7 separate regions of the Homo sapiens genome follow, and all the other regions are linked to region 1. The links are contacts of gene promoters, found by promoter capture Hi-C in blood cells and fetal thymus (Javierre and others, 2016). All regions are on one chromosome and are shown on one strand. The core of a region is centred on a gene start or on the middle of the fragment in contact, and the rest is flanking DNA. Distances in the headings are between cores, read along the strand shown. Region 1 holds the start of B3GAT2 (beta-1,3-glucuronyltransferase 2). Region 2 overlaps COL19A1 (collagen type XIX alpha 1 chain). Region 3 overlaps COL9A1 (collagen type IX alpha 1 chain). Region 4 overlaps COL9A1 (collagen type IX alpha 1 chain). Region 5 overlaps LOC105377848 (a long non-coding RNA gene). Region 6 holds the start of LINC01610 (long intergenic non-protein coding RNA 1610). Region 7 holds the start of FAM135A (family with sequence similarity 135 member A).

Region 1 (3,505 bases), core at 381-2,880:
AGGCTATTCGAGAGAATGGGAAGAGGTCTAATGGCTTCGTTGTTTTCTATGTTTAGGATGCACTAATCTGCAGAGTTTAATGTATGAGTTGTGGATGGCACAGGGAAGTTGGGACAGAAGGCTAGCTCTAGGGAGTTGTTGGGGTGGCTGGGTGTTAGTCTGAAATTTCACTCTCACGTTTCAGAATCTGAAGAGGAAGTTAGGGAAATTCACAGATGAGCCAATGCCTTTTAACAGGTGGGGGGTTCAGGGGTAGGACTGGGAGAAGAGGAGCTGTCAGAAAAGCTGGAGAGCCATTCGCCCCAGAGCTCTCAGTTGCACCAGAACGCACAGTCGGAGAGAGATTTATTTGTGAACAAGCCCGAGAAAGGCAGACAACCCAGACAAGATGGGCTCAGAAATTATTTATCATAGGCTAGGGCAGAACAGTCTGGAGCTTTCCTTCTGCTTTGCAAGCACTTCCCTGGGACCTGCCTGGGAAGCACAGCCCTTCTTCCTGGTAAGTTACAGAAGGTCAGGCACTCAGCTAGTAGGCCAGCTAGACAGCAAAAAGTGTCTAAACTAAGTGCCAACTGTTTACTTGGGGTCTTCCAGACCCTATCATGGTTCTATTCGTCATGGTACACTCTGTTTGATTTCAATCGCACCATCTTTATATGTAGGAAGGCCAAACCGGCCCGGCTGTGTTGGGTGGGATTTCTGCAGGCCATGCAGTGAGGACGCCACTAGCTATAGACACACGCAGGAGACCCACGTTCTATTTCCATATGCCACTTGCCACTGACCTCAGAGAAATCATTTTAAACCCTGAACCTCAGCTTCCTTATCCTGAAAATGAAGGCCATTCTACTTCTTAGGCCTTCTTGACAGGAGCCTTGGGAGAGCCAAACGGAGTAATTCCGGTGACAGCGAAGAACTGGGAGGGACCGTGACTCCAAATTACTGAAGAAAAATAAGTTAAACATGCTCGGCTGGAGTTTTAGGAATTCCACCCGCCCCCACCCGCCATGATCAAACTGCAGTCAGGCAGCAGCCCTCCGAATTGATTCTTTCTTATGGACTGTCTCACATGCCAAACACCTATGTGCAGCACCCCTCCATCTCCGTGGGCTCCTATTGATGTCTGCCTTGCAGTGAAAGCGCTTTTTGTTGCCGCTGTTCGATACACCCCAGCACATCAACGCAGCAGCTGGGAGCAGGAGGAGGAATCCCTTCGCTTTCTCCCCTCCTTTCACTCCGAACCCTAGGCATCAGCAGCAACGCGCGTAGCCCGGCAAATTTCCGCACGTGAATGGATTTTCCTGGCTCATCTCCAAAGACCTTGCGGTATTTCACAAAGCTGAAGAGAGGTGAACGAGCATCACCCCCTCCAGGAGGTCGTGCAGCCCCGCGGGGACGCTCCTCCCGCTCCTCCACCCGCGGTGCAGCGGCCGCCTCCCGAGCTTGCTCGCGGGGCCGTTAGCGCCAGACCCGGCGGAGAGCCAAGGGGTCCCTCCGCGCCTCCCTCTCGCAGCCCCTCTCCACCAGTAGCAGCGCTGCTGTCTTCCCACAGGAGGACTTGGGAGGACGCTGGATTCTGCAGCGCCCCCGCCCCCTCGCTTTTTCTTTCTTTCCTTGCTTTGGGATCTTGCTGCTGGATCCGGAGAGGTTCTGAGAAGACAAGAGCAAGGGACTGAGAGCAGGCTTCCGCTGCGGCGCGCGAACACAGCCGGGACACAACCCCCAGCGTCTCCACCCGCTCCTCGCCACCCCGGCGGGAATGTGAGGAAGGAAAGCCCCCAGCGCCGCCGCCCGCCCTCGAAGGCGTCCCAGAGAGCGTCCTGGGGGCCCGCGGCTGGAGCCCTTGTGCCCGCAGCACCGCCGGACTGGAGCGGCGAGGCGCACCGGGTGCCGCTTCTCGGCTTCCACTCTTCAGAAAGAGCGCGGTGGGGATCAGCGCCTTTCCCGCACTCGGCACAACTCCGGGACCGGCGGCGCGCGGCTGGACCGAGTCCCGCTTCCCGCCAGCTCACCTGGAGTCGGGGGCAGCCCCTGCCCGCCCGCCTGCACCCCTTGTCGCTCTAGCTTGCGCGAACCTGCCGCTCCTCCACGCCCAGGTAGTGAGCCCCGCGGCTCCAGGTCTCTGCAGCGCCCTCGGCCCCATGGACAGCGCACCCATCACCACTCCCTAAGTGCTGGCGCCGCCGCTGTCCAAGCTGCGCACTGGGGTCCCTCGGCTCGCCCCTCTCTGGGGTGTCCGAGAGGCCAGGGAGCGTGCACCATGAAGTCCGCGCTTTTCACCCGCTTCTTTATCCTCCTGCCCTGGATCCTAATTGTCATCATCATGCTCGACGTGGACACGCGCAGGCCAGTGCCCCCGCTCACCCCGCGCCCCTACTTCTCTCCCTACGCGGTGGGCCGCGGGGGCGCCCGACTCCCGCTCCGCAGGGGCGGCCCGGCTCACGGGACCCAAAAGCGCAACCAGTCTCGGCCGCAGCCACAGCCGGAGCCGCAGCTGCCCACCATCTATGCCATCACGCCCACCTACAGCCGCCCGGTGCAGAAAGCGGAGCTGACCCGCCTGGCCAACACGTTCCGCCAGGTGGCGCAGCTGCACTGGATCCTGGTGGAGGACGCGGCGGCGCGCAGCGAGCTGGTGAGCCGCTTCCTGGCGCGGGCCGGGCTGCCCAGCACTCACCTGCACGTGCCCACGCCGCGGCGCTACAAGCGGCCCGGGCTGCCGCGCGCCACTGAGCAGCGCAACGCGGGCCTCGCCTGGCTGCGCCAGAGGCACCAGCACCAGCGCGCGCAGCCCGGCGTGCTCTTCTTCGCTGACGACGACAACACCTATAGTCTGGAGCTCTTCCAGGAGGTAAAGGCCAGCCTGCCCCGCTGGGTGGGCGAGGGCGGGAGTGGGCCTCCGGGCCGGCCGGGCTGCAGTCACACGCCCCTTGCACTCCGGGTGCACTTTTGAGTTCTCAGTTCTCCGTGCGCGCATTCGGGGCACCGAGTGGAGCCGCTCCTTGCTGGCACTCCGCAGCCTCCGCTGGCCGTGGGGGTGGAGGGGCTGTGTGTGAGAGGATCACTGTGGCTTAAGGGGCGGGAGTCTGCCCTGGGGCTTTTCTGTGTGGAGATTGTGTCAAGAGAATAGCACAGGTGTGAGGCGCGGGAATGATTTCCAGGGGCCAGGCTCCTGACGACCTGAGGATGGAGCTTAGACCTGCAGGCGCTGGCTGCGATAGGAGATCAGGGAGGGACCTGCACCGTAGCGGGTGGCGGTGGAGGGGTGGGGGTGGTGGGGACGGGTAGGCTAGGTGTTACTCGAGGCTTTTCAGTGCCTACAGGTGTGATTCTCAGTCTAGGACCATATAGGGAGAAAGGTGGAGATAGCCTAGAGAGAAATTTGACTATTGCGGCCCACTGGCACGGAAATGGTTGTTAGAAGAAACACTGACTTCTATGGAGGTCCTTCCTCTCTTTCCCACACCTCACAAAAGTCTTTTCTGACCCTCAAGATTACTTTTTT
Region 2 (3,505 bases), core at 596-3,095, 750 kb after region 1:
GTAATGCCTGTCTGTAAATACACACGCTTAAGTGCTCTTTAAATGATCAACGAGAGGAAGTGTAACATATTTGATTGATCTGGCTATCAGGAAGAGGATGCTGCTAACTGAAAATTACTTTTAGTCTTAATAAATGGCAATTCATGCTAACTCTCTGCTTAACATGCCTTCACAAATTACTTTTGACTCCAAGTTATCAAAACATAGCTGGAGAGAGAACAAGGGAGGGAAACTGTCTCAAACAAATTACCTCTCTTTCTGAGATATATTTGAAATTCCATTTTGTCTCTTAAGTTGAAAATATGTGTGTGAAAAGACAACAACATTCTTTAGAGAGCACCTAGTTAATTTATCCAAAGGGGGCCTGAAGATAGGAATAGTTAAGAACTATGTAAGTTATTACCCGGTATAGGTAAACATATAAATCCTCTGGCACGTTTTGATGCAATTAATTTCTGTTAAGAAAACCTGCTATGTATTTAACTACTTATTGCCTATTACCTTATCACTCATGGTGTAAAAGCTTCTATGGATGAGAAAAGTTAATTGTGTTATTTCTTATCTCCCTCAGGGACCTCTATAGCAAAAAGTCTCAAATGATTTTAGTGAGATGATCACTCTGGGGGACAAAAGTCCCAAAGGACTGCCTGCTTTTGGGCTTTTGATTCTGCTTATAATTCTCATCTGAAATAATTAGACTAGGCTTTTTATGAACTGCCAGGGAGATGGGTGACAAACTTGATTATTTCAAGCTGAGCAATGATTCATGTGACAAAGAAAACTATAATGATGGTACAAACATGAACCCTGCAATAGACCAATTAACGTTCCTTGGACACCTGTGGGGCTCATGGTTAGCCAAGAGTGCTTCTGGAGCATCCCCATGGTTGACACCAAACAAAATGGACTGAAGTGTGGAGCTTCAGCCATGGCAAGTGATGAAGAGTAGATATGGCCTTAATAATTGCACCTTAGATTTCCCTGACATAGGGTCAGAACCTTTATTGCTGAGATAGGTGACAAGCTCATTATGCATAATGAACATGTAGGAATCAAGGCCTCAAAGCATTATGCCCATGTGGGATTTTGAATAAAACTAATGCCATTGCACTTAACATGAGTATATTCAATTAAATCGTAAAGAGTTTGATGAGGTAAGATAGAGAACAAACAAAATGGGGGAAAACACACCCTAAATGTTATTTAAAAATAAATAGTTGTAAAATACACCCAATACAACCTGAATTTAAAGACATTAATGTGCTGAAAAACATTTATCTCCAAAATGTACTTTGCATAACACAATACAATAAAAAGTTGTAAAATAGCCAGCATCTTTACTTACACCCAGAAGCTTAGTATGGTCACACAATACACACACTTCTGATAAACTTAAATCTTATTTACCCCCTCATTTAGTGAAGCCTCCCACTTTATTAGTATTCACTTTTGACAAATTCATGAAGCAAGTAGCTAACTCCTCCAGTTGTACCACATCACTCACTATTGGATCTGAACACGCAATTTTTTTTCCATTTAGATTTTCTTAGACTTAGCTTTGGTCTTATAAGCTTGTCTTATCTTTCAGACAAATTTTTGCTGTGCTGGGTCTACTTGTCCGAATAAGTTTTCTCTGTGTTCACTTGGTTCTTCATTCAATTTAACCAAATTGATCAGTTACTCTAGCATTATTTTGTTGAGTAAAACGTTTGGATTATAGCTCCAAGTATGCCACACAATAAAAATGATGACACTCATCTGTCCTATTGCCTGAGACTTTTAGTAGTTGAATAAATTTAAGATAATTAATGCTATCTTAACCAGCCAACTAATAAATGAACACAATTCAATGGACTAAGTCACTTTGAATTACATAGGCATACAAGATACAAATTCAATTATCTTCTGCATCTCCTCCTCTTCAAAGCCTGCATATAATCTTTGTGAGCAGAGATGGTACAAAAGGGGGATGGTACAAAAATGTGTCAACACTCAAGTATTAAGAAATAACGCTGGGAAACTGCGACAGTAAACACTTGTGTGTCTTCAGAAGGTGGATACAGACAAGTATGAAAAATAATTTAAGAACAAGAGCAATGGACAAATCTGCAAAGCTTTTTTGAGTATTCATTAAAACAACGTCAGCAAAACACTTAACAGAAATTCTCAATCCCAGTGTATTATTAGTGTTATGAAAATAAAAACGGTACTTAAAAAAAACAGTGTTTCTAATTGTACTTTTGTAAATAGTGATGTATTCTAGAAAAATATAAACGTTATACAAATATAACTGTAAAATTTTAAGTACACTGAGCAACATAGAGTTTAGACATTGTGTAGTTTTATAAATTGTCTGCTTCTTGTGATAAGCTAAATCTTTTTTCTTGTCTGTTGAGAGTATCTGTCCTGTCTAAAAAGTAGGATAATTATTTAGCTGTCTTCATATTGATCACTAAAATATGAGAGTGGTGTATAAACAGTTATGACTAGTTAATCTGCATGTTAACTAAGTGTATAAGTACATATATATCCACCAAAGAAATAAAATCAAAACAGTCAACAAACCAAAGGGTACTGTGCCTGTTTCATAAAGATGCTTAAAATTAGGAAAAACATAAATTAACAAAACAAATTAACAAAAATTATCTACAAAAGTTAAAAAAAAGTGCAAAGGCAAGAGTCTGATTTAGTTGTCCACTAAACTGTTCGTAGCCTTGTATTTCTGTTAGTTTGCTCAGTTCTTCTGAACAAATTGTTTTAAACACCATCTTGTGGACAAATGGAGGTATATCACAGGTTCCCAACAGATGAGACAGACTGCAGAAAGGCTAAATCTTACCTAACTCATAAAACAGATTCATAAAAATTACTTTATAAGCCAAATATCAAATGATAATTTTCACAGACAACGTATTTTAATATAATTGCTTAAGTTCTTTAAGTGACTAAAATTTTAAAGTTTAAACAATACCATGAAATAGGGAAATAAACTTATGGGGTTACTTTGCTCACAAAGTGAAAAGTTTAAAAGGTTAAAACTTGCTGTGTTTGTGTTACGGTTAGAAGTAATGGTTACTGCCTTCAGTTGGAAAGAACAATGAACAAATCCATGAATTATTCTTCTGTTTTTCTTTGGATTCCAAAGGCCATAAATATGAATTGAAGTCATACTTTAATCTTTGCATAGAAAGACTTCTATCTGAAAGTGTTTTGAACTTGGTATAAAATGTAAGATTGGAACTCAAACATACTTGTATATGGAAATCACAGTTTTAATATTAATCGTCGTCATGGCCCATAATTATTTTGTATTTAAACATGTATGTTGTTTTCTGGAGTGCAAACAAGAGTTATTCATGAAATTGAATAATTCTTCTCCCCTGCTTTGAACATCATTAACATCTATGTGGAAATAAACACATGTTTTGGAATGGAATAAAATGGTGCAAGGGATTTGGCAACCATCAAGTCATTTAGAGGAAAACTTCCCACCCTACTTTGGGGC
Region 3 (3,505 bases), core at 357-2,856, 730 kb after region 1:
AGTTCACTTTAGGGAGTGGTTCTGAGAGAGCAGTCCCCGGAGCAGCGGAGTCACCAGGGACCTTGTTAGGAATGCAAATTCGCTGGTCCACACTGAGTCCACTGAATCAGAAACTCTGGGGTCGAGGTCTAGCTGTCTAGTTTAACAGGCCCTCCTGGTGGTTCTGCTGCACCTGGTGTGGAGCAATCGCCCATTTTCCTACTGAAAGGGAATGACTTATAGGGCCTATAGACATCACAGCCCTATTTTCTTTGGTTAACAGGAAGTCTCCTTGGGGCAGAGCTTAACTTTGTTTGAGCTAGTAACAGAACTCTTCTTTAAAAAATGAAAGCTAAGCTAGGACAGTCTAAAGCTGCCTTTGTCAGCCTTGCCTGCACACTGGAATTGCCTGAGGAGCTTAAAACCACTGATATCTGGATCCCATTCTCAGAGATTCTGATTTTATTGGCTTGGGCATTGGGATTTTAAAATATTCTCCAGGTGATTTTAATGTGCAGCCAGGGTTGAGAACCACTGGAAACAATGGTGAATAGTTTGGGGAAGCTTTAGCAACAGTGAATTGTGGCTAGGCTGGGTTGGGTTGGCTCTAGCAGATGAACCTCAGTTTGAAAGAAACAAAAGTAAATTTCTATATTTGGAACCTGGGAAATGGCTCTAGCACTAAGTTCGTTTGTCAAGTATAGCTTGATCATGTGAGGTATTTCCTCTTAATTTTTCTTCAGTATTCATGACATAATCTATAACATGAAGTGATACAATTCTTTTCCCTTTTCCAAAGGATTTTTTTTCTCCCTACCCTCCTCCATCCCTTTCTCGTTATCAGATTCCTTTAAAGCTGTATCTTCTCTTAGTTTAACTTCTGAGAATTTGGGGTGGAGGTAGGGAGCGGTAATTAAATTTTTAAAATCAATTAACACTGTCATACTTTTGGAAATGTATGATTTTAGGTAGCTGGATTTGATTCTTCTTGTCCCACCACATACATTAACAGGAGTATTTATTAGAAAACATATAGCTTTGTAATATCCAAGGGGTTACAGCTGAAATTTCCCTGAGCATAAACATTCCACCAATTTGAAACTTAAATTTTCAGTCAATTAGAGGAGAGATATATTTCAGTATTGCTTGCTGGCTTTTTTCCCCATCCCTGGTAAAGAAGGGATGGTATGAATCTTGCTCTACCATATGGTCACTTTGAGAGCCTTTTTCCAGAGAAACTGCTGCATAAATAACAAACAAGTTTTATTATGAATGCTTGAACAGTTCAGCCTATGTCTTAGTCACTGTTTTTCTCCTAGAAAATACTCTGAAGAACACAGTAGAACATTTTCAATAGGAACTAGTAGAAATATGCCTCAAATCATAGTCAAAGCTTAGGTTATATCTATAATTTTTCTGTTTTTCACTGACATGCTTTACACAATATTATACAAAATGTTAGGGCCCAGGCTTAAAACCTGAGAGATATCTAACTGGCCTTATATTCACTTTGCTTGGTATTACATTGGTCTTTTGTGTCATAAATATTAGTTTTAAATATTCACAGTTTGGATTAATTTTAAGTCCCTTTGAGTAAGGCTGTATATTTTTAGATATTTTAGTGTGAATCAAACAGACACTGCAATATGTAAATGAAGGTTTGAGAAAACACACATGTCATAATTATGACTAACACCTTTCTCAGTGATAATCTGTTTACATGGAGATAGAGCATCAATTATAGCTCATGAATAAATGAAATAAATAGCAACTATAGAGCAATGAGAATTTCCACTCGTTCATAATGAGCTGTTTTTCTGCTGAAGCTGTGTATTTTTCTTTATACCTTACCTAAAGCTTATTTTACAAGCTCTTTATGCATATTTTTTGACTGAGGAGGCTAACAAAGCTGGACCTTTAGTTCCCTAAGCTGGTTTTTGTACATCTCAAAATAAGACATGATCAGGGTTTGAAGTAATAGATTAACCTTGTCGATAGAACCAACCTGTATACATGGTTTGCTGTGGAGTAGCAGTTTGCAGAATAGGCTCTGTTTTGGAGCTCATCTTAAAACTTGTTTTTCTCTGACTGATAACCAAAAGACAGTATCACAACAAAGACACTGGTCTTAGTCCTCGAAGCAACATTAAAAGTTGGTGTGGCTTCATGCTAGAATGTACAAACAAGTTTAGCTTTTACTATCAGTGTAAAAGCCACACTTTAATTTATAATCTTCATCTCATATCTTCAGAAATGTGGCACATTTAGACAGTCTGTTCTCATTGCCAGCCTCCAGAATTATAGTGATATGACACTTAAATTACCAAGTTAACAAGAATGCTTATGCCATTAGTTTATAAGATGTTAATTGTCGTATCTTCCTAATATAGTAAGGCCATATTGATGATGAATGTTAAAAAAACTAGCTTATGTAAATATGAGTTCAACCTGAGTTCAATCCGTCATAGTATTTATATAAATTTAAATTGTTTTGAAATGTGATGAAATGTAGTTTATCATAAAAACATTCACATGAAGACATTCACAACTAAAATCAAAGTATGGTGACTAAATATTCACTTCAGAATTAGAGATCTTTGACTATCTGAGTGCAGATGGTTATACAGATATTTTTTCTGTTTTTGTTGTGTACATGACTTTGTTTTTAAAATTATAACAAATATGACTTAATATTGAATGAGGCTAAGCTGAAACAAATGTTTGGAAAAAAAATGGTATGTATAGAATTTATTGCAAGGTGCCATTGCATTTTCTAACAGCATAGTAGAATAATGATATACTACTGTACTACCGGAATAATGGGATAATGCCTTCAACAAAGAGCAGCAGACATCATTTAGGACCAGTTAACTAAGGAATTAATGCCTTTTGTTAATGAGGTCAAGTTGCTGGGTTTGGTATCTTCAGGGGCTGGGATAATTAATGCAACTTTGTTCTGTGGCTGCTAAATCCCCAATTTCAATCAACTGTCTTGTAAATGTCTTGCAAATCCACATGGTTGGTTGCAATCCAAAGTATGTTCCCTATAAACAATGAGTCAGTAGTGAAATGTAGACACTGTAACAACACACTTTATGTTTTTAAGATTGATTAATTTATATTTCATAATACTAAATTTATACAGTTCCAAAAATTAACAATGTATAAAAAAGATATTTAGTGAAGTTTCTCTCCTATCCCTGTCTCCCATCTGCCTAATTTCCTTTCTCCTTCCCACTAGGTAATCAATACTATTCTTTTCTTACATATCCTTACAAGCAATTCTATATAAGGATACATGAATATGTATTTTTTCTACATCCTTTTAAAAATGAATCATATTGTCCTTTAGCAAGTGTTCTGGAACTTGCCTTTTTCACTGAGCAGTATGCCATGGAGACCATTCCAAAGAGCTTCCTGGCTATTCTTCACAGCTGCATAGTGTTCTATTCTGTGGAAATTCTGTAATGTCTTTAACCTTTTAATGGACATAGATTGTTTCCAACCTTCTGCTATTATGGCAAGG
Region 4 (3,505 bases), core at 518-3,017, 670 kb after region 1:
GGAGTGCCTTGAGTGAGGGCCTCATGGAGAAGAAAATATTTTGGCAGAAACCTGAAGAAGTTGAGAGAATTAGCATCTGGATATCTGGGGGAGGAGGATTCCAGGAAAAGAGAACAGTGAGTGGAAAAGGGTCTGGTGTAGGTGTGTGATGTCTGAGAACTCCCTGGCAGCCAGTGTGGCTGGAATGAGACTAAGAAAGGAAGTATTGAGGTTGGAGAGGTAACATGATGGAGATGTGGTTGAGAAATTGTGTTAGTACTTTGGCTTTCACACTGTGTGAGATGGGTGGCTACCAGGTGGTTTTGAACAGATAAGCAACATGTTCTCATCTTTCAAAAGGATCTCCTTGGCTGCTATTTTGATAATATATTGTAGGAGAAGGGAGAGAAGGACATAAGAGTGTAGGAGCAAGGGCTACTTAAGAGCTACTGCAATAATTCAGGCAGAGACAGCCTTGGTTTAGACCAGGGTGGTAGTGGTGGAGGTGATGCAAAGTGATCCAAACCTAATATATTTTGAGGTAAGGAAAACAGGATTTGGAGTATGAGAGAAAAAGAGGAATCAAAGATGACACCATTACTTTAGGCGCGAGTAATTGGAAGTATAGACGTGCCATTTACTGACATGAGAAACGCTGTGGGAAGAGCAGGTGTCAGGGAGAGTATCAGGAGTTAGTTTGGGTTTTGGAGTTAGTTTGATCGTTACTAGACATCTAGATGAAGTTGGTAAATAGGCAGATATATGCTTTCGGAGTTCAACAGATAGGTCCATCTGGGAATAGAACTCTGGGAATTGTCAACATACATATGGTATTTAAAGTCAGGAAATCACCAAGAGACAAGTGTAATATAGAAGTCCAAGAACTGAGTCCTGAAATATCTCTAAATGAAAACACTTAGAGATTGCTGAGATGAGGAACATTTGTCAAAAGAGATTAAGAAGGAGGGATCTGTAATATAGGAGAGGACCAGGAGATTGTGGTGCCCTGAAAGTCAAGGGAAAATAGTATTTCAAAAAGGATAGAATAAGAAACTGACTCATATGCTGTAGATAAGTCAAGTAGTTGACCATTGGATTTAGAAATCAAAGAGAGTGATCTTGAGAAAAGACCCATTGGAGTGTTGGGAGTGAAAGCCCAACTGGAATGGGTTCAAGAGAAAATGAGGAGAAGAATTGGAGACAGTAGTTGTAGACATCTTTTTTGAATTTTGTGTAAAGAGGAACAGAGGATGGCAGCTGAAGTGGTATGTAAAATGTGGGGAGGATTTTTCTTTTTATCTGACAGATAACTTAGGATGCCTCATCATAGTTCAGAGTGTAACACTTCTTGTTGCTTTACTGCGGTAGCCTCCTTCTGCCTCAAAGGATTAGGCATTTATGACCAAATGAATTTCCTCAAAATGCCCTCTAAATCAAGGAAGCTTTCCCCATCCTTATCTTTTGCAAAAAAAGTCTTTCAATGACAATTTAATAATAATATACCAAATAATATTTAAATTCCTTAGCCCTGAAGTCAAGGTGAAAAAAAAATCGGATGTCTACTCTGCCCCAGCAAATTTGGTCTCTTCTCTATATACCACTTCCTACCCTTGGGACTTGTTGTTGTAACCCCTCTATGTAAACCCTAATCTTTACCCTCCGTGTCTCTGCTTATAATAACAGAAGTGGGGCTTCAGGGCCCCACCCATATATGTGCATGCACATATATGCGCGTGTTATATGATCCCTTCATTGATGACCTGAGCCAGAAAAATATTTCTGTCATCTCCACTGCTATAGTATTTATCATCAAATCATTTTCTGCTTAGATACTGCCTTATATGGTAGACATTTTTGTGTCTTTCATGGTGTCTATCCCAAAGCACATGAATGTGTTATATGAAAATACGTTGAATAAATAAATGAGCATGTCTCCGGTCTACTAACTCCAAGTTTACTGCTTTCTCCTTTCACCATTCTGCTGTAGCCTTTGGTACAGTATTGCGTTAAATATGAGTGCTGCCTACATCCCTAGCACTATGTCTGGAACAGCCGGGTTTAGTCTACATAGAATTAGGAAATTTTCTAATTTTGAGGCAGCTCAGAGCCTCCTGCTCAGTAATCAGGAAGCTTCACTTGGAGGAGGTCTTTCATGATGGTATAAACTAACATTTGGTCATAAACTGAAAGGAAAGATGAGATCTGAGGATTCAAGTATTCTTTTAAATCTTTGTTGTCACTGAAGACAAAAGCTTAATGAAACATCTGTCCTATTAAAGAGCTAGTTTTTTGGTGTTTTATAGTTGTAAAATTTAATCATAATTCAGTTTGCAGAAATCAAACCTTGTGCCAATCTCATTAACACTGAGCCAAGTTTCATAGCCATTAACATTCTCTCTCAGGAGGAAAAGATAGTTGTCTGCAGTTAGTTTTTGTTTAGTTCTTATGAAGGACTTAAATACCTTATTAATCTTTCTTAACAACCTGGCAAAATAAGTAGAAATCGTTAACCTTGGTAAAAGAATAGAGAGTTGGGGCCAAAATTCCTTGCTTAAATGTATTGTCAGCTGGGCATTACTGTAACCTTGAGGATTGAATTATACCTTTACATTGTCCTATAGAAAATAATTGAATAGGCCAGATTCGGTGGCTCACACCTTATAATCCCAGAACTTTGGGAGGCCGAGGCAGGCGGATCAAGATGTCAAGAGATCGAGACCATCCTGGCCAACATGGTGAAATCCCGTCTCTACTAAATATACAAAAATTAGCTGGGTGTGGTGGTGGGCGCCTGTTGTCCCAGCTACTCGGGAGGCTGAGGCAGGAGAATCGCCTGAACCCAGGAGGTGGAGGCTGCAGTGAGCCAAGATTGTGCTACTGCACTCCAGCCTGGCAACAGAGCGAGACTTCATCTAAAAAAAATAAAAAAGAAAGAAAGAAAGAAAAGAAAATAATTGAATAATCCTAAATCTGGGCAGATGTGAGGAACCTTACATTCACACACTACTCATTTCTCCTTGAGACAATGGAGAAATATTTTATGTTGAGAAGGATGGCTTTTGCTAGGGCATTTTATATTCTGTTTAGTAGATTTAAAACAAACTTATTTATTTATTTACTTGTATTTTTCTTGTCTTGCAAATTATAAACCCAGTGTGGAGAGGGGAATATCTTTGGTTTCACCAGAATGTTTCCTTAGTGTTTGGCTTCTATTGGGACATCACAAATGTTGACTAAAGGACTAAATTAGTTGTAAACATCACTGTACTCACACCAGCCAAAAGGACTAAATTATTTTTCACATATACTTTGTCAGTGAGTATTCAAAGAGAAGAATGATTCCAGGTATGAAAATGAGAAATGTGTGAAAATCAGCATTTTACATGTATAACGCAAGTGACTTTTACCAAGGCACTCTGCCAATCTTCCTTCAAAATAATCAGCATGCAAATTGGAATTCATATTTCATGCCAAAAAACGGTTGTTGTATAGATGATTATTAGCGTGTAGGTGATGTTTATGTGGA
Region 5 (3,505 bases), core at 450-2,949, 600 kb after region 1:
AAAGGCCATATCTCCAAATAACATCACATTAATGGCTTCAGCATATGAAGTTTTGGGGGACACAATTCTGCCAGTAGCAATAACATTGACAAATATTTACATAGTATATGCTAATTTATAGAGCGCATATTATGCCAAGATCTGTCTTAAGCAATTGTGCATGCACACATACATTTTATAGATGAGGAAACTGAGAGATGTAGAGAAAACACACAGCTGGGAAGTGGCAGAGCCAAAACTTAAATTTAGAAGGTTTGGTAACAAAGTCTATGCCCTTGAGCACTACTCCATAAAGCTTCCCTATAGCCCTCCTCAGAGGTTAACACTGCCAAGTGGCATACATTCTTCTAGGCCTATTTATAGATCTTTATTTTTGCTCTGTTTTTGGTCACTAAATTCATCGGGAGACTAATGTTGTAGCAAGTGGCATATAAAACAGGGTTTGCTGAGTCTTCTGGACTGCTTCTCCACCTAATTGTCTCATTAATGCTACCAAGACTTCAGATTTCAAACAAACAATACTTCATCATGGAAGCCACCCTGAATCTCCAACTGCTTTATTCTAAAAAGGAAGAAAATGAGATCCATAGAGGTTAATTAATTTCCTCCAAAGAGGCATCCTTGCTCTTTCATGTCAGAGTTAGGACTAGAATTCAGGCCTTTTGATTTAGCCAAGAGCTCTTTTTCAGTACGCCATTTTGATCTTCTGGGACACGAACTCACCACTTATGACTCAAGGGAGAAACTCATAAGAGTACTGCTGTCTTGTGATTTGGCCAATCTTGGAGAAGCACATTTTAAATCTTAAATTTGTGAATTGATTATTCTAAAAAGGAGCAGCAAATAATAGAGGGAATGCCAGCTTTCAGCATAAGCACAAAATAAATTTTTGAAATTCCTTCTGTGAAAGACAAAGCCATTTAAAATGATCTTTTGATTATAATTTACATGAAAGTATGGGATTATTATTATTATACTATTAGACAGTGAGGATCAACTCCTTTAAATGATTTTAATCTCTGGATGTGAATATGTATTAGATGCTTATTGCTGCCGTAACAAATTGTCACAAACGCAACAATTTAAAATAACTAAATGTATTTCACTATTATATAGGTCAGAGGTCTGGTAGGCTCAGCTGGCTTTTCTGCTCTGGGTACCACCATTGCACCATTTGCACCATTGCACTCCAACCTCAGTGACAAGAGCAAAACTCCAATGGTACAATCTCAGCTCACTGCAACTTCTGCTTCCCCAGTTCAAGAGATTCTCCTGCCTCAGCCTCCCAATAGCTGGGATTACGGGCACCTGCCACCATGCCCAGTTTTTTTTTTTTTTTTGTATTTTTACTAGAGATGGGGTTTCACCATGTTGGCCAGGCTGGTCTCAAACTCCTGATCTCAGGTGATCCGCCCACCTTGGCCTCCCAAAGTGCTGGTATTACAAGCATGAGCCACCACGCCCGGCCTTATATCCCTATTTTAATGTCCATAACTGTAATCACATTGGCAAAGTCCCTTCCCTTTTACAATCTAAACTAACTGTTTTTCTGGAAATTAGGATATGGAAGTCTTTGGAGAGGGTGGTGGTGGTGGTAATTATTCTGCTTACCACAGTCCACCTTATGGCCCTTAAAGATTCATGTCTATTTCATACACAAAATACATTTATTTCATCCCAAAATCACCAAAGTTCTCATCCCATTACAGCATCAATTTAAGTTCAAAATCTCGTCTAAATTCCATGAGCTCTAAAACCCCAAATCTAATCACCCAAATAATTTAAATTATATGTAGGTAGAATCTGGGTATAATCTTCCCTGAAGCACAGTTCCTCTCAATCTTTGGACCTGTAAAACTAAAAAAAAAAAAAAAAAAAAGTTATCTGCTCCAAACATACAACAGTGGGATAGGCACAGGATAACACTTACAGATATTCACATTCAAAAAGGGAGAAAGATGGGAGAATAAAAGGAATCACTGGTTCTAAGCAATTAAAAAACCCAGCCGGGCAAACTCCATTGGATTTCAAGGCCTGGAGAAAAAAATGTTCTGTGGTTCTTGATTCTTCCCTGTGAGTCACACTTTTTTTGTTTAGGAAAGGCAACACATGTTCGCAACAGGGTAGTTTTATCAGTCTGTGTCTTAGTCCATTCAGATGCTGTAATAAAAAGACCATATCCTGGGTGACTTACAAACAATAGAAATCTATTTCTTATAGTTCTGGAGGCTGGGAAGTCCAAGATCAATACACAGGTTTAGTGTCTGGTGAGGGGCTATTGCTTATGGACGACATCTTTTTGCTGTATCCTCACATGGTGGAAGGGCAAGGCAGGCTCTGAGGTCTCGTTTATATGGACACTAACCCCGTTCATTAAGGCTCTGCCTTCATTACCCAACCCCCTCCACAAAGGTCCCACCTCCTAACACTATTGCCTTGGGGATTAGGATTTTAACATAAATTTTGAAGGGACACATATGTTCAGACCATAGCAGTCTGTTTTCTGCAGGTAGAATTTTTATGGACTGACAGTTTTTGAAAATTTTGTACTCTCTATCTCTTTCAGTCCTAGCTGGCAGAATTTCTGTTGTCTTAATATTCTTAGGAACTTTGTGAGTCTCCCATGTATGTCATGGGATTCACCTTGTACACAGATCTTTCCTAGATAATACCATCTTTATTTATGGCTTCTGTTGAGATGGCCAAGGAGATTGATCTGTCACACTTTTGATCTCTTCAAGTAGTCTTTTGTGTAACTAAATATTACAACCTTTTGAGTTTTCTGAGGTATTACCAAAAGGTTTTACAGACACATCCTGGGCTCTTTTTTTATAACATGACTTCCTGACAGTGAATCTCTTAATTTTAGTCTGTTTCCATTTAAATAGGTGTAGAATTTATAAAATCACCAAGTATTGGTTTCTTTTTAATAGGTCCACCCTCAATTTCTCTCTCTCATCTTTCATTTCACTATAAGCTGCAAGAAAAAACAGGTCATACCTTCACCATGATGCTTGAAAATTTCCTCAGCTAAATGACCAGATTTGTCACTTACAAAGTCTGCCTTCAGCATAACTGCAGAACACAATATATATAAGCTTTCTGCTTCTATATAACAAGGATTCTCCTTCCTTCAGTCTCCAATATTGGGTTCCTCATTTTCTTCTCAGAGATCACCAGAGCATCCTTCAAGTCCACATTTCTACTAATAACCTATTCAAGGTAATCTAGGCTTTTTCTACCATGCTCCTAAACGTTTTTAGTATCACCACCCACCACCTGATTATAAGCTATTTCCACATGGTTAGGTATTTGTTATAGCAGTACCTCATTCCTGGTAACAGAATCAGTATTTGTTTTCTTTTTTCTTTTTTTTTTTTTGACAGAGTCAAAGTCTCTTTTGCCATGTAATAAAACATTCACAGATTCTGGAGATTAGAGCGTGAAAATCTTTGGGGGATCATTATTCTGTCCACCACAGAATCCCACAAATCTCCCAAGACAT
Region 6 (3,505 bases), core at 523-3,022, 560 kb after region 1:
TAATCTTTTAGAGTAGCTGAAAGGATATTAAAACAATATCTTTCAGTTTTGCTTTTCTTTTCCAGTAACAAGCTTCCATGTTAATCAGCATATTCAAGCTTCCTTCTCATTAGTTTTTAAGAATTCTAGGAAATACTTTCCATGGCATGTTGTGAGAGATTTTATTATAGGATTAAAATCCTTTCAGCAAACAATAGGCACACATGAGGCAGGGTCCAGGTATTCTGTCTTATAAGCCAACACTACACTTAGGTAACTCTAGAAATGGACTACATTTAATTATTTTCTACTTTGTTTTTATGGCAAAAGCAGCCATGTCAAACATTTTTCAGATCATATCTTACCTCAGATTCTCTATCTTGTTTCAGGACAGTGGAAAAGCTGCTGGAAAAAAATGCGAAAACAATTTTTTGACTTGAGTTCATATTTTTCATTCAATGTCTGCGGGGCCCTCAATGTAACTTTTTTTTTTTTTTGAGAGGGGTCATCCTCCAATCATTAACTACTTCTAATCTTCACTGCTACACAGAGTTTCCAATATTTAGCAACAGATGGCTTTGCTTTTACCTTATAGATGAGGCCAAAGCACCAGGTAGGTGGAAGGTTCTTGTATCGGTTCGAACCCCGACAGCGCGCCAACAGACAACACGAGGCAGTGGGGAGCAACATGCTGTTTTAATGAGCGCCTGGGTGCAGGCGTGCTGAGGCTGAAAATGGCATCAGCACCAAATGAGGATGGGGCAGGGGTTTTATAGTCTCCTGTAAACAGGAAGTGTCTCAGTCTGATGTAACTGCTACGTGGTACCTGGACGGCCTCTCTCTCGGTCTTCACAGGGTACATATCTTCCGGCCAGCTCTCTTCCTGCTTCTGCTATCTTGCTGACGCATGCTGCTAGCACAAGTGGCCTTGCACCTTGGGACTGGGCCTGAGGAGGGCGGAGTTATTCATTCCCTTAAACTTTCAGGCCCCGGGGAGAATCTTTCAGTAAGAGCTCTTTCAGCTTTACCAACTACAGTCTACACACTTAACCTGCTTCCACGCACACCCTCATCGTTCTCTTTCTCGGTGGAAAATATGTGCTTCCCTTGGCAAAGGCCAACCTGTTCATCTGTGCTCCTGAACACAGCCTCTCCAATGTACTTGTTATATATATATGTGTGTGTGTGTATATATACACAACTATATATATATATACGTATATACAACTGTATATGTGTGTGTATATATACACACAACTATTTATGTATATACATATATGTATATATCCCTCCCACCATGGGGTCTTCCCATTTTGCCCAAGCTGGTCTTGAACTCCTGAGCTCAAGTGATCCACTCACCTTGGGCTCCCAAAGTGCTGAGATTACAGGCATGAGCCACTGTGCCCAGCCTGTCCTTGTGCCTTTGATTCATCATTTATCCTCTCCTTCTTCTTTATTTTTCCACTGATCCTTTGTCACAGGCCTTAGTCTTCTGCCAGCTGATAAATGGGAATATTCCACAGGTTCAGTTCTCGCCCTTTTTCTTCTTTCATTATGTACATCACAAAGGAGATCTTATCCACATTCATGGCTTCTGCACACACATTAAAGCCATGTACACCTGCCTTCAGCCCTAGGTGAGTTCTAGGTGCCCACAGGACCTCTCTACCTATCTTCTCAAAGATAAGTCAATCTTAACATGTTCAAAATGAATCCATTATAATTGATGTATTAGTCTGTTCTCACACCGCTAATAAAGACATACCCAAGACTGGATAATTTATAATGGAAAGAGGTTTAATTGACTCACAGTTCAGCATAGCTGGGAGGCCTCAGGAAACTTACGATCATGGCAGAAGGGGAAGCAAACATGTCCTTCTTCACATGGTGGCAGCAAGGAGAAGTGCAGAGCGTTGGTGGAGAGCCCCTTATGAAACCACTAGATCTCGTGAGAACTAATTCACTATCACGAGAGTAGGATAGGGGAAATCATCCTCATGATTCAATTATCTCCACCTGGTCCTTCCCACGACACATAGGAATTACAGGAACTACAGTTCAAGATGAGGTTTGGGTGGGGACTATATCAATTGAGAATTAAAAAAAATCATTTCTTCTGTATTACCCTTGTTCTGTATTCTCTCTATAGTGAATGGCATTATGATTGTCACATCCTGAAACCTAGGAATCAACTCGTGTCTTCCCTGTCTCTTACTCTCTCACCTTCAGAGAATCACCAAGCTCTGTTGAACTTAATAATAATTGACAATGCTGAATATGAAAGGCATTTTTTAAAGAAGACTAAATGTATTTTCTCAATTTTCACAGTCACTGTGTTATGTGGGTGGCTAATATCACCTCCATTTTAAAATTAAGAAAATTGAGGCACCAAGAGGCAAAATAACTTGCTTTGGTCACACAGGTAATAAACGGCAGGGATGGGATCCAAATCTAGGCAGTTTACAGCGCTGGCCTCTTAACAACCATACCATGGTCGGCTTACTAAATGCCAGGATCTTAAATACCTCTTCAGTTCATTTCCTCCTATTCTTTCTCATTTTGGTAGAGTTGGTTCATGTGCTTCTTTTCTGCTGTGTAACTTCTTACAACCTGCTGCTCTAAATCCATTTTTAAGTTATCTTACTAATTAGCCTTCATCAACATTTTCAGGAATTTGGCTAAGCTATGTCTTTGTAATCTATAGATTTGAGATTTTGTTTCAAGAAAATTATATTCAATTATATATTTGAATTTTTCCCATTCCATATATTATTTTCTTCCATGAAAGTGATTATTTGTTTAATGTCCATACCACCTCCTTTCTTATTTTATCTCTGTTCTTTTCCAATTCGTTTTATGTTATTTACTCAAGGGCTTTCTTTTTGTCCTAGACTGTATTTTTATCCATATATATGTGTTACCATTTGTTGACTCTAATGAGAATTTCACCTCTGTAATAATTTCATCTTATGCTTCTATTCATCTCTGAGCTCCACACACCCACTGTTTATCTCCTGTTCTTGCTTCATCTCTCTTTTGATCGATCTCTTGTTATTCTTTCAGGATAATTTTTTTTTTTTTAAGGAAAGCCAACTTGCCTTTAGTTTCTTTGAGTCTTGGGAGAACTGTTTGTTTGAAATTGGCCTATTTTTCTATGAATAGGTCCTGAAATTTTGTGTTCTTCATTTGCCTTTTGTTTCCTTTTTTCTCCTATGTATTTTTTCTTTACTGTCTAACCTCTACCAGGGAAATGGATGTTTCAGAAAGAATTAAAGGTAAAGACAAGTGATAGTTTCTGAAATTAAAAAATAAATGTATACAAGTTTTGAGAGAGAATTTTATAAATTCCTTAATCTTTCCTACTTAACATACCCAGGGCTGAGCCTGGATGACCTAGAACACAGAGTTCTACCGTAGTATAGAAAGGATGTCCCTTCAGTCAATGGTAGTGAACTCAGAAAGCTTGCTTTCCAACCGGGAAGGAAGACAGGATGTAGGGAAAGTTAAAGAAAAGCTTGTCTATTTT
Region 7 (3,505 bases), core at 350-2,849, 540 kb after region 1:
TTCTCACGTATGTCTCCTATAAGCACACTAATTCTAAAGGTAGCAGAAATTGTATGCATTTATTAGAGAACAGAGACTCTCAGGAAAATTATGCAATCAATTGCAATAGCAAATGTATAAAACAAATTAATAATACATTTTAAAAAAGAAATTCTGTTAAATTTCATTTAAGATTAGTTCTTGGACAGCTACACCTAATGGAGGACAAGAAAATTTCCAAATTTTAAGTGTATGTTTGTAGGTCAACCTTTAACAAGTCTTAACCCATTATAGTTTCATTTAGTCTGTACTCAAGTTGCTTTCCCAGGCATGCCAGGTAAACATAATTCTTAAAAATTAAAGCTTTAATCAGTAAGTGTAACCGATTTGTTGCTACTGTCACTCTTTTGATGATACTTCCACCAACCGGTAAAGAAAGAAGAAATGTTATTAAACTGGAAGATGAACTAGAAACATTGAGTGGATACCTAGCTTAGGCAGAAAGCAGCAAGGACTAGAAGGGTATGTCACAAAGAAGTCTTCAGAGATTTAATAAAAAGTAAAACAAATGGAATGAAGTTAAGAGGCTTGACTTATACAAATGGGGGGGGGAGGGTGGAAGAGTTTTGGAGGGGAAAAAATTAAGATTAGAGACTCACTGGGTGCAGAATGGAAAAGGACGTGAGGATAGGGGCCATTAGACAGAAAGCGATGAAGCAGGGTACCAGAGGAAAGAGAAGGCAGTGAGGGTTTCCGAAGCTAAGATGGGGCATGGAATGAACTCCAATGCAAAGCGATGCTAAAGCAAAACACAATCGGCAACTAACAAAAAGGGAACCAGGAGGAAGTACCGAAAGGAGGTGGATGAGAGGAAAATAAAACCAAGGAAGAAATTATGGAGGTAACAAGAGTGAGAAACCTGGTCGGCCAGGGTAAGGAGCTCCGGACAGGGAAGAGCCAGGCAAGGGATGGAAGCACAGAGATACGCTGCTTCCCAAGGAGGGACCACCCGGGCAAAAAGACACGTGGGAGGCGCGGGATGAAAAAGCAGAACCACGAAAGCGGGTAAAGGAGGGACAGAGCGACGAAGATGGAGCAGGGGTGAAGGGCAAACACGCTAGGCGCGAGGTTCAGGAAGAACGGGTCGAGGGACGCGCGCAGGGGCAGGGGCGGCCGCGGGCACCGGGAGAGCAGCGCGCCGCGGCCCCTCGCCTCCCTCAGAGCGCTCCGCACCGCCGTCCCCACCGACCTTCAACGGGGCCGGGGCCAGGCTCCGACCGCCAGCAGTCGGGTGAGGGGCCGCGGCGGGCGAACGGCGGACGAAGAGGAGGCCGCTTCCTTCCTGGCCCCTGGGCAAGAGGGACGGAGGGAGGGGTCGTGGGTGTCGGGAGCCGGGGGAGCCAGAGGGGACAGTAAGGGGGTTACCTCTCGCCCGGCTCGGCCTCTTCCCCCGCCTGTCGAACGGAGGAGCTCGTTGTCCAGCTGCAAGAAGACGGCCCGACCCGGGTCAGCACCATCCCGCCCCGGGCCCCCTCACATCGCCATCACAGCAACCGCAAACACCGCAACCGCGGAGCCGGTTCGTCACCGCGGCTCGGCTACTGGCCCAGCGCGGCCAGCGAGCATGCGCAGTCGCCCCAGTCCCGAGGGAGCCCGGGCCAGCCGGCTATACCTGCGATCAACAGGTCCCCGGCCGCACGGCCCCGCCCCCGGCCTCTCTCACCTCCTCCTCCCGCCTCTTCCCTCCCCTCTCTGAGGCTAGGCCCCGCCCCTTCAAGCTCCGTGCCCCGCCCTTCAGGAGCTTCAACTGCCCCTCCAGCTCCAGCGCCAACTGAGATTTCGAGAGATTTGTCCTCCCTACCAGGCTCCCGTTCCCAAGTTCCCGCGAGAACGGGAGGTTTGCGTCAATAAAAGGCGCGCGTCAAGAAAAGGGGCTCGCTTGTGGGTTTAAGGGATGGAACTTGGAGGTGGTTGAAGAGTAGTGAACAAGAAGAGGGCAAAAACACGGAGTTCGAGAACTTTAGCCGTTTTTCTCACAATGTTGTTTCTCCTTTTCTCTCTTTAGCTCCTCCGTGCAGTCCCGGGTAGAGAGCCCGGTCCCTGCGCTAGTCGATTTGTGCAGTAGGAAAGGAGGCTGCAGGGGATCTGCGCCGGGGCAGGACAGATGCCTTTCGGGACCCAGTGTTTGCATCTTGGGAGATGTGGGTGCTGATCTGGTTGTTTCTTGGTTTATGACGCCAAAAAGGGCGGGAGGGGGCTGATGAAGTGAAGCCTTTCGCTAATACATTCCGTTAACAGAAGCCCACGAAGGATCATTGATTTATTTCACTCTTCCCTGTTTCTGAACCTTATCTGGCAAAAACTTTTGTGGTGCATAAAGTTCAGTATGTTGCTAAAGCTGAGTTAATGAAAGGAAAATTTCAGCTGCGACTCTTGTTTTAAAAATGAATCTAGGATGGATAGTGGTGTTGGTTGCACAACAATGAATGGACATAATGCTACTGAACTGTGCACTTAAAAATGGTTAAAATGGTAAATTTTCTGTTATGTATATTTTACCACAATAAGAATGAATTAGAAGGGAAAAGCTTTGTGCATTCATTTGAAAGTAATGGTGAGGTCTTGTAACGTAGGCCATTTAGGGGACAGGTTTTGAATATATCTTTGTACCAGTTTTTTTTTTTTTCGAGTGTGTGTGTGAGACAGAGCATTGCTCCGTCGCCCAGGCGGGAGTGCAGTAATGTGATCTCGGCTCACTGCAACCTCTGCCTCCGGAGTTCAAGCAATTCTCCTGTCTCAGCCTCCCTAGTAGCTGGGACTACAGGCGCACACCACCACGCCTGACTACTTTTTGTATTGTTAGTAGAGACGTGGTCTCACCATATTGGTCAGGCTGGTTTCGAACTCCTGACCTTAGGTGATCCACCCGCCTTGGCCTTCCAAAGTGCTGGGATTACAGGCCTAAGACACCGTGCCTGGCTTGTACCAGTTTTTACATGATTGGGTGTCCTCTTATCCTGTGAACCAATTTATTTGCATTTGTATGAATGGCCTGCTTTCCTGATTTCTAATTTGTCCCTTCTTTTATAGCCCTATACCATTTTACTATCCTTGCTAAACAGGCTTTTATTGCTTGTTTTGTGACTTGAACTTTAGCCTCAAAATTGGAAAGGCTTTTTCTGTTTTTTTTTTAGTTCCAGCCATGTCTTAGGAAAATATAGTAAACAACCAATTATTTGCATTTCCACGTCCGTGCATCCCTAAAACACACAGTGTGCCAAGATTCTTTCCCTGTTCCACGTTCTTTTTATTCAAATCACATTGTTAACTCATCTGCTGTGTGCCAGGCAGTGTGCTAATCTTGGAAGATACCAACATGAATGAAAAAGAACTTGGGTGGAGTGTTTGCATTATTACCCTATGATGTAATGTGTATAGTGCAGAGATAAATGCACAGAGAGCTATTGAAGCTCAGAAGAAGCATTAATCCAACTTTGGGAAGAGGTCATGGGTCAGGAAAAACTTC

Evidence for each region. The method cuts DNA at HindIII sites, captures the fragments that hold promoters and counts their contacts. A CHiCAGO score of 5 or more calls a contact.
Region 2: a fragment that was not itself captured here is called in contact with the fragment with the promoter of B3GAT2 in region 1 in 2 of 17 cell types (naive CD4 T cells and fetal thymus); the score reaches 6.1 in naive CD4 T cells.
Region 3: a fragment that was not itself captured here is called in contact with the fragment with the promoter of B3GAT2 in region 1 in 4 of 17 cell types (erythroblasts, activated CD4 T cells, non-activated CD4 T cells and 1 more); the score reaches 6.3 in erythroblasts.
Region 4: a fragment that was not itself captured here is called in contact with the fragment with the promoter of B3GAT2 in region 1 in 5 of 17 cell types (erythroblasts, M2 macrophages, naive CD4 T cells and 2 more); the score reaches 6.4 in erythroblasts.
Region 5: a contact is called between a fragment that was not itself captured here and the fragment with the promoter of B3GAT2 in region 1, in 2 of 17 cell types (M2 macrophages and non-activated CD4 T cells). The highest score is 5.9, in M2 macrophages.
Region 6: a fragment that was not itself captured here is called in contact with the fragment with the promoter of B3GAT2 in region 1 in 4 of 17 cell types (total CD4 T cells, activated CD4 T cells, M1 macrophages and 1 more); the score reaches 5.9 in total CD4 T cells.
Region 7: a contact is called between the fragment with the promoter of FAM135A here and the fragment with the promoter of B3GAT2 in region 1, in 5 of 17 cell types (fetal thymus, activated CD4 T cells, total CD8 T cells and 2 more). The highest score is 7.4, in fetal thymus.

Annotation. Positions count from the first base shown.
Region 1 is chr6:70,955,185-70,958,689 of GRCh38, reverse strand. It overlaps B3GAT2 (beta-1,3-glucuronyltransferase 2), which reads left to right and starts at 1,630. Exons shown (of 4, transcript NM_080742.3): 1 at 1,630-2,851. The coding sequence starts at 2,261. LOC124901229 reads right to left here and starts at 2,262. Exons shown (of 2, transcript XM_047419611.1): 1 at 2,162-2,262; 2 at 1-2,058. The coding sequence starts at 2,262. The coding sequence ends at 1,332. RefSeq lists an enhancer at 1,855-2,370 and silencers at 2,299-2,428, 2,899-3,038. The HindIII fragment of the contact is 6,068 bases long and covers 1-3,505 here.
Region 2 is chr6:70,209,940-70,213,444 of GRCh38, reverse strand. It overlaps COL19A1 (collagen type XIX alpha 1 chain), which reads right to left. Exons shown (of 51, transcript NM_001858.6): 51 at 977-3,505. Among named protein-coding and RNA genes, the nearest start is that of COL9A1, 91 kb to the left of the region's middle. The HindIII fragment of the contact is 543 bases long and covers 1,574-2,116 here.
Region 3 is chr6:70,227,710-70,231,214 of GRCh38, reverse strand. The region is part of intron 36 of COL9A1 (collagen type IX alpha 1 chain); the gene reads left to right. Among named protein-coding and RNA genes, the nearest start is that of COL9A1, 74 kb to the left of the region's middle. The HindIII fragment of the contact is 464 bases long and covers 1,375-1,838 here.
Region 4 is chr6:70,285,297-70,288,801 of GRCh38, reverse strand. All of the region lies in intron 5 of COL9A1 (collagen type IX alpha 1 chain), which reads left to right. Among named protein-coding and RNA genes, the nearest start is that of COL9A1, 16 kb to the left of the region's middle. The HindIII fragment of the contact is 688 bases long and covers 1,424-2,111 here.
Region 5 is chr6:70,354,734-70,358,238 of GRCh38, reverse strand. The region is part of intron 1 of LOC105377848 (a long non-coding RNA gene); the gene reads left to right. Among named protein-coding and RNA genes, the nearest start is that of LINC01610, 38 kb to the left of the region's middle. The HindIII fragment of the contact is 2,803 bases long and covers 298-3,100 here.
Region 6 is chr6:70,392,106-70,395,610 of GRCh38, reverse strand. It overlaps LINC01610 (long intergenic non-protein coding RNA 1610), which reads right to left and starts at 1,409. Exons shown (of 4, transcript NR_125857.1): 1 at 1,339-1,409; 2 at 568-926; 3 at 345-384. It overlaps LOC105377847 (a long non-coding RNA gene), which reads left to right. Exons shown (of 5, transcript XR_942668.1): 2 at 369-592. The HindIII fragment of the contact is 3,343 bases long and covers 101-3,443 here.
Region 7 is chr6:70,411,602-70,415,106 of GRCh38, reverse strand. It overlaps FAM135A (family with sequence similarity 135 member A), which reads right to left and starts at 1,599. Exons shown (of 22, transcript NM_001162529.3): 1 at 1,405-1,599. It overlaps FAM135A-AS1 (FAM135A antisense RNA 1), which reads left to right and starts at 1,149. Exons shown (of 2, transcript NR_147708.1): 1 at 1,149-1,270; 2 at 2,045-2,279. RefSeq lists silencers at 1,083-1,232, 1,573-1,792. The HindIII fragment of the contact is 2,225 bases long and covers 345-2,569 here.